Linked DNA regions of Homo sapiens: region 1 is linked to region 2. The links are contacts of gene promoters, found by promoter capture Hi-C in blood cells and fetal thymus (Javierre and others, 2016). All regions are on one chromosome and are shown on one strand. The core of a region is centred on a gene start or on the middle of the fragment in contact, and the rest is flanking DNA. Distances in the headings are between cores, read along the strand shown. Region 1 overlaps CARMAL (coronary artery disease region linked MFGE8 regulatory lncRNA). Region 2 holds the start of FANCI (FA complementation group I).

Region 1 (2,869 bases), core at 326-2,825, 170 kb before region 2:
TGAAATTCCACTGGGCTGACATCATAAGGGGCCCCCTATCCTGGGGATAGGGAATATTTCTAGATTAGGTCTTAGTCCTGCCCCTGGAGGAAGGGGGTTCCTCATGCCATTCTCTTTCATGGCCTTTGGCTCTGCCGTCCGGAAGGGCCTTCCTTTTCTATTTTCCTCCTAATGAAGGCGTGTGCCTTCCTGAAGTGTGCCCCCCGCTTGCTCTCTGTGGTAGACTGCATTATTAAATACTCATTGCTCCTCTCCATGGGTCTGTTTTGCTGAACCCTAATTAACCTCAGTAGGGAAGGCACCAGGTTCAAGAGGTCAAAGAAGAGACCCAAAGGTAGCAAATAAGACATGGGGTTTTGGCCGGGCACGGTGGCTCACACCTGTGATCCCAGCACTTTGGGAGGCCAAGGCGAGTGGATCACCTGAGGTCAGGAGTTCAAGACCAGCCTGGCCAACATGGTGAAACCCCATCTCTACTAAAAATATAAAAAATTAGCTGGGCATGGTGTCAAGCGCCTATAATCCCAGCTACTTGGGAGGCTGAGGCAGGAGAACCGCTTGAACCCGGGAGGTGGAGGTTGCAGTGAGCCAAGATTGTGCCTTTGCATTCCAGCCTGGGCAACAAGAGCAAAACCCCGTCTCAAAAGAAAAAAAAAGACATAGGGTTTTATTTGGGGCTTACATACAGGGGAGAGTCTCCAGCAGTGGCAGACTGGACAGGAAAAACGCAACCACTTGCAAACAGCATGCAGTTTATACAGTATTTTCACTTAAAACCCTCCCCTTAACAACCTTCACCTGGTAACCTGCATTTAACCTAAAACAAATGGCCTCCATCCCTTATACGGCCCACATTCCACCAGACAGGAAGGGAGTGGGGTGGAGCTCACATGTTCCTCATAGACAGGAAGGAATCTCTGGGTTGGCCACTCCCAGATTCCCTAGCTCAGAGCACACACTCAGGTGCGTCTGCCATACAGGGTCATTCTAAGGGTATGCTTAAGTTATTGCTATTGGGTATGTTTATCCTACAGGGTCCCTCAATACTGGACGATTATAATGCTCACTCCCTGATGACAAACTTGGTCATATGACTTTTTTGGCCAATGGAAGTGGTGCATGCCACTTTCGGGTAGAAGCTTTATTGTAGGGTGACCAACCTCAGTTACCTGAAGACGAAGACTATTCTGGTTTTAACACTAAAGTGTTGTGTCCCAGGAAACCCCCAGTCCTGGGCAAACTGGGATAGCTGGTCACCCAAGCTGTAAGAGTCATGTCACACTTTTATTTTTTTCCTTTTTGAGGAGAACAAAAATGTCTCCGTTAGAAACCTCCTATGAGCCTTGGTCACAGAATGAGGAGGAAGATAGCTGACCTCGATGGATATGTAATGCAAATAAGAAACAAATGTTTGGGCCAGGTGCAGTGGCTCATGCCTGTAATCCCAGAACTCTGGGAGACCGAGGCAGGTGCATCACTTGAGGTCAGGATTTTGAGACCAGCCTGACCAACATGGCGAAACCCTGTCTCTACTAAAAATACAAAAATTAGCCAGGCATGGTGGTGGGGGCCTGTAGTCCCAGCTACTCGGGAGTCTGAGGCACAAGAATCACTTGAACCCAGGAGGCAGAAGTTGCAGTTAGCTGAGATTGTGCCACTGCTCTCCAGCCTGGGTGACAGAGCAAGACTCGGTCTCAAAAGAGGAAAGGAGGGGAAGGAGAAGGGGAAGGGGAAGGATGAGCAGGAGGGGGAGGGGAAGGGGAAGGATGAGCAGGAGGGGGAGAGGAAGGGGAAGGGGAGGGAAGAAAAGGAGAGGGGAGGGGAGGGAAGGGAAAGTTAAGTTTGGGGTTTATTTAGCCACTGAGTTGAGAAGGTCATTTGTTACTGCAGGATAACTTAGCCTAAGCTGACTGAGGCAGCTCTACATGATATCTTTGGTATTCACCCATTCATCCATTTCTTATTGATGTCTGACAAGTTCTGCCTCTTCTTGCCCTCAATATGGTTATGCCAAGCTTCTCCTTGGAACTTCAGTACTTTTGTGAGTAGAGCTGCCAAGTAAAATACAAAATGCTCAGCTAAATTTGAAATTCAGATAAACAATACATAATTTTAGAAACTTTTCCTAAATTTAAATTGATCATATTAATAAAATTTAATTTTTAACTAGTAAGTTTGCTAAACCTGTTTTCACTACTTAAAATAATTTTATAAGTATAGCCCACACAATATTTGAGACATACTTATACTAAAAAAGTATTTGCTCTTTATCTGAAATTCAAATTTAACTAGGCATTCTGTATTTTCATTTGCTAAATCTAGCAAGCCTAGTTGTGAGGAAAGCACTTTTTGAGGGGCCTGGGACAAAGAATATACTCAGAAAATTCCCACTTCTACAGAGAGCAGCATTGTGGAGCAATGCTAAACTTAATCTATCATCAGATTTATGGGGAGCTTTAAAAAAGGGACCTAGGTGTGAGCTCAGACCTGATTAGCTAGAAACTTGTGTGGAATATCTGGGGAATCTGTAGTTTTTGAGACAGTCTTGCTCTGTTGCCCAGGCTGGAGTGCAGTGGTACGATCTTGGCTCACTGCAACTTCCGCCTCCTAGGTTCAAGCGATTCTCCTGCCTCAGCCTCCCAAGTAGCTAGGATTACAGGTGCCCACGACCATGCCTGGTAATTTTTTTGTATTTTTAGTAGAGACAGAATGTCACAATGTTGGCCAGGCTGGTCTCGAACTCCTGACCTCAGGTGATCCACCCTCCTCGGCCTCCCAAAGTGCTGGGATTACAGGGAATCTGTAGTTTTCTTTTAAAAAGTGTGTTAATTCTGATCATTGGCCAGGTTTGGAAACTAGTGGCCTCACG
Region 2 (2,797 bases), core at 193-2,692:
GGGGAGATGAGGCAAAGTCATCTACTTCCTTGGCAAGGTAAAGGATTCCTTTCAGGAATCATCTTCTACCTCAAGCTGCCGTGTTTTAGTTAAACATCACAGCTCAGTATTGGGACAGAAATGTAGAAGGAAAAAAATGCTGAAGGGTCACAAGCAAGGAGCAGGTCTAGACAGCTGAGAGGAACCATTCTCCTCCAATAGCTCTGTTTCTTCAATAACTGGCCATGTAGACCCGTTCTACCCCCGAGGGCTGGGAGTCGAGTCAGGTTCCAGACTGAAATGCTCCCTGATCTTAGCATTCCTTCACTTGCCATCCCACAGGCACCTCAAATTTGGTGCGTCCAACTCTGAAGGGCTCATCATCACCCCATCATCCTTTTCCTGTGCTCCCTGTGTTAGTCAACTGCAGGATTAACTCCCCGCCCCCCAACCCCAGTCGCTCAAGCCTGAACATTCCTCAACAACGCCCACACCCCCTCAAATCCGGATATTTGGGCTTCCTAAATCTCTACCTCCTAATCTCTTTCACATGCGGTCCACTCCTTTCTGTCCCCATTGCCAAGGTTGGGCCACCACCACCTATCTTTGGGACAACTTACAGTCTTCTAAGGGGGGTCCTGCCTTCGGTCCGCCCCACCTGGCTCATCTCTTTTCAACAGTTTCTGCGGTCCTCACCTGCCCGAGACAGCAGTCTACAATGCGAACACAGTCATGTCCTTCCCCTTCAGCGGTTCCCCACTGCCCCCAATATGAAAAGGAGTTAGAAACCCCTGCCTTCCCACTCCCACCGAGCACCTTCGCCTTCTGAACTGGCCAGGGGCTCTGTTGCTTGCTCGTTGCTCTCAGACCCTTTGCGCAAGGTGCTCCCTCAACCCAAAATAGAATCTCGGCCCACCCTCTGTCGGTCTTCGCCCCACTGTCAGTTGTTCATTTAACAAATATTCGCTGCTTTTGCCAGGCTATGCAATAAACGCTGGGGTTACGCAAGGGGAGCGCAAAACAAAACAAAACAGAGAACAAACAAAAACCACAACTCCCAAAAGTCCATTAAGACCCCTAGCCACAGGGGGCTTACATCTGAGGGGTTACCGTCCCTTGGCACAAGGTGGAGTATGAAATCCGCCTCTGCCTTCCAGGCTTTTCCAGTGCCAAGACCTGCGGGGCCACCAATTGTGAGTCCCCTCCCGCACTGACTACTCCCTCAACAGGACAGGAGGGAAGCTGAACCTGTCGGGACACCGCGCTGGGCACGCTCAGGTCCCACCGCGCGTGCTCATCGGCGGTCCCTAGCGCGAGTTCGGACAGGCAGCGCCCCCCTCCGACTGTGAGCTGGGACGCTCCCGCACGCTTCCCGGCACCCCTTCAGTCTTCATGGTACACCCCGCCCGCAGGTACCCGGACGGCGGAAGTGAGCCGCGGGGGCGGATCTTGTTGTTACGGGTAACGGAAGTGTGGCGGCGTTGGGTTGAGCGGGCTTTTTGGAAGTTTGTGGCGGAGGTGAGGCCGAGGTGACTGCAGAGCGGCTCGCGAGGTGCTCGGGCTGTGGGACTGGGCCCCTGGGAGGGAGCGGTTCTGTGGGGGAAAGGAGGCTCCTGTCCTGACTTGGCGTTCTGGTATTTTCTCTGGCGTGGAAAGTAGGCGCGCTCCGCTGTCTCCCGCCGCCTGCCTCAGCTTTCGCGGTTCCCTCCTAGGGGTGTGCCTCAGTCGGAGCCCCTTCTGTTAAATTCTTCCCCCTTGGCCGAGGGTGAGCTCTTACTTCTGAGAAATTTCCCTTAACCTTGCTTTGCATTTGTTGTCCGGTCGCGGTCTCCATCACCAGCTGCTTCGTGTTATAGTTTTTGTATTTGCGCTCACGGCTTGTTAACTGAAGAACCCGGAAGGGAAGGCCGCGGCGTTTCCCGCCGGCGGGGCTCTGCCATTCTCGGATCTTGGCTTCAGATCTCTGATGCTCCCCAGCGTCTCTTGGCAAGGAATCTACTTCGCGTTCAGGGAATTCACAGCCACCCGCCTCTGGTCTTACCTCTGGTTTTAGGATGATTTTAGCAAATGTGCCTAGGTTGATTTAAACGTATCCCCCTCCGAAGCCGCCTGCCCCTTCTGGCTGGACACCTTTTTAGGTTGGTGTGTCCTGTTTGCATCCGGTAGTTCAAAGCATGGGATCTTGGAGTCCGGAGCTGGACAGACTCGGGTTTCACTTCTCTCTCTGCCACTTGGTAGCCTTCTAATCTTGGGGGAAATTCCCTAATCTCTGAATCCCAAAAGTTGTTCATCTAAAATGGGGCTAATATTACACCTACCTAGTAGGTGGTGTTGTGGGAGTCATGTTAATGAATGTAAAGTGCTGGGTTCAGTGTTTTCCCTATTATAGGGGTTCAATAATTTGTTCAACAAACATTTGTTACCTAGTTTGAGCTAGGTACTGTGCTAAGTGCTGGAGATACAATGATAAACAAAACCAGCTACGGCCCGTGTCCTTAGGGGACTTATAGTCTAGTGGGAGATAACATTTGTTAATCTGATAATTACACATGTAATATTAAAAATTGGTGACAGTATGTAAGAGAGTTTACTGGTGCCATGAGAGGATGTACTAGGGGAACGTTTAACAACCTATACTGAGCTTTTCTTTTCTTTTCTTTTCTTTTTTTTTTGAGACAGAGTCTCCCTCTGTTGCCAGGCTGGAGTGCAGTGGCGCGATCTCGGCTCACTGCAACCTCCGCCTCCTGAGTTCAAGTGATTCTCCTGCCTCAGCCTCACAAGTAGCTGGGACTACAGGTGCGTGCCGTCACGCCCAGCT

What was found. Contacts are between HindIII fragments. The CHiCAGO score rates a contact against its expected background, and 5 or more counts as called.
Region 1: a contact is called between a fragment that was not itself captured here and the fragment with the promoter of FANCI in region 2, in 1 of 17 cell types (erythroblasts). The highest score is 5.5, in erythroblasts.

The regions. Positions count from the first base shown.
Region 1 is chr15:89,070,780-89,073,648 of GRCh38, forward strand. The region is part of intron 2 of CARMAL (coronary artery disease region linked MFGE8 regulatory lncRNA); the gene reads left to right. It also overlaps a transcript of ABHD2 not described here. Among named protein-coding and RNA genes, the nearest start is that of ABHD2, 16 kb to the right of the region's middle. The HindIII fragment of the contact is 876 bases long and covers 1,138-2,013 here.
Region 2 is chr15:89,242,537-89,245,333 of GRCh38, forward strand. FANCI (FA complementation group I) reads left to right here and starts at 1,443. Exons shown (of 38, transcript NM_001113378.2): 1 at 1,443-1,497. RefSeq lists an enhancer at 1,646-2,025. The HindIII fragment of the contact is 10,185 bases long and covers 1-2,797 here.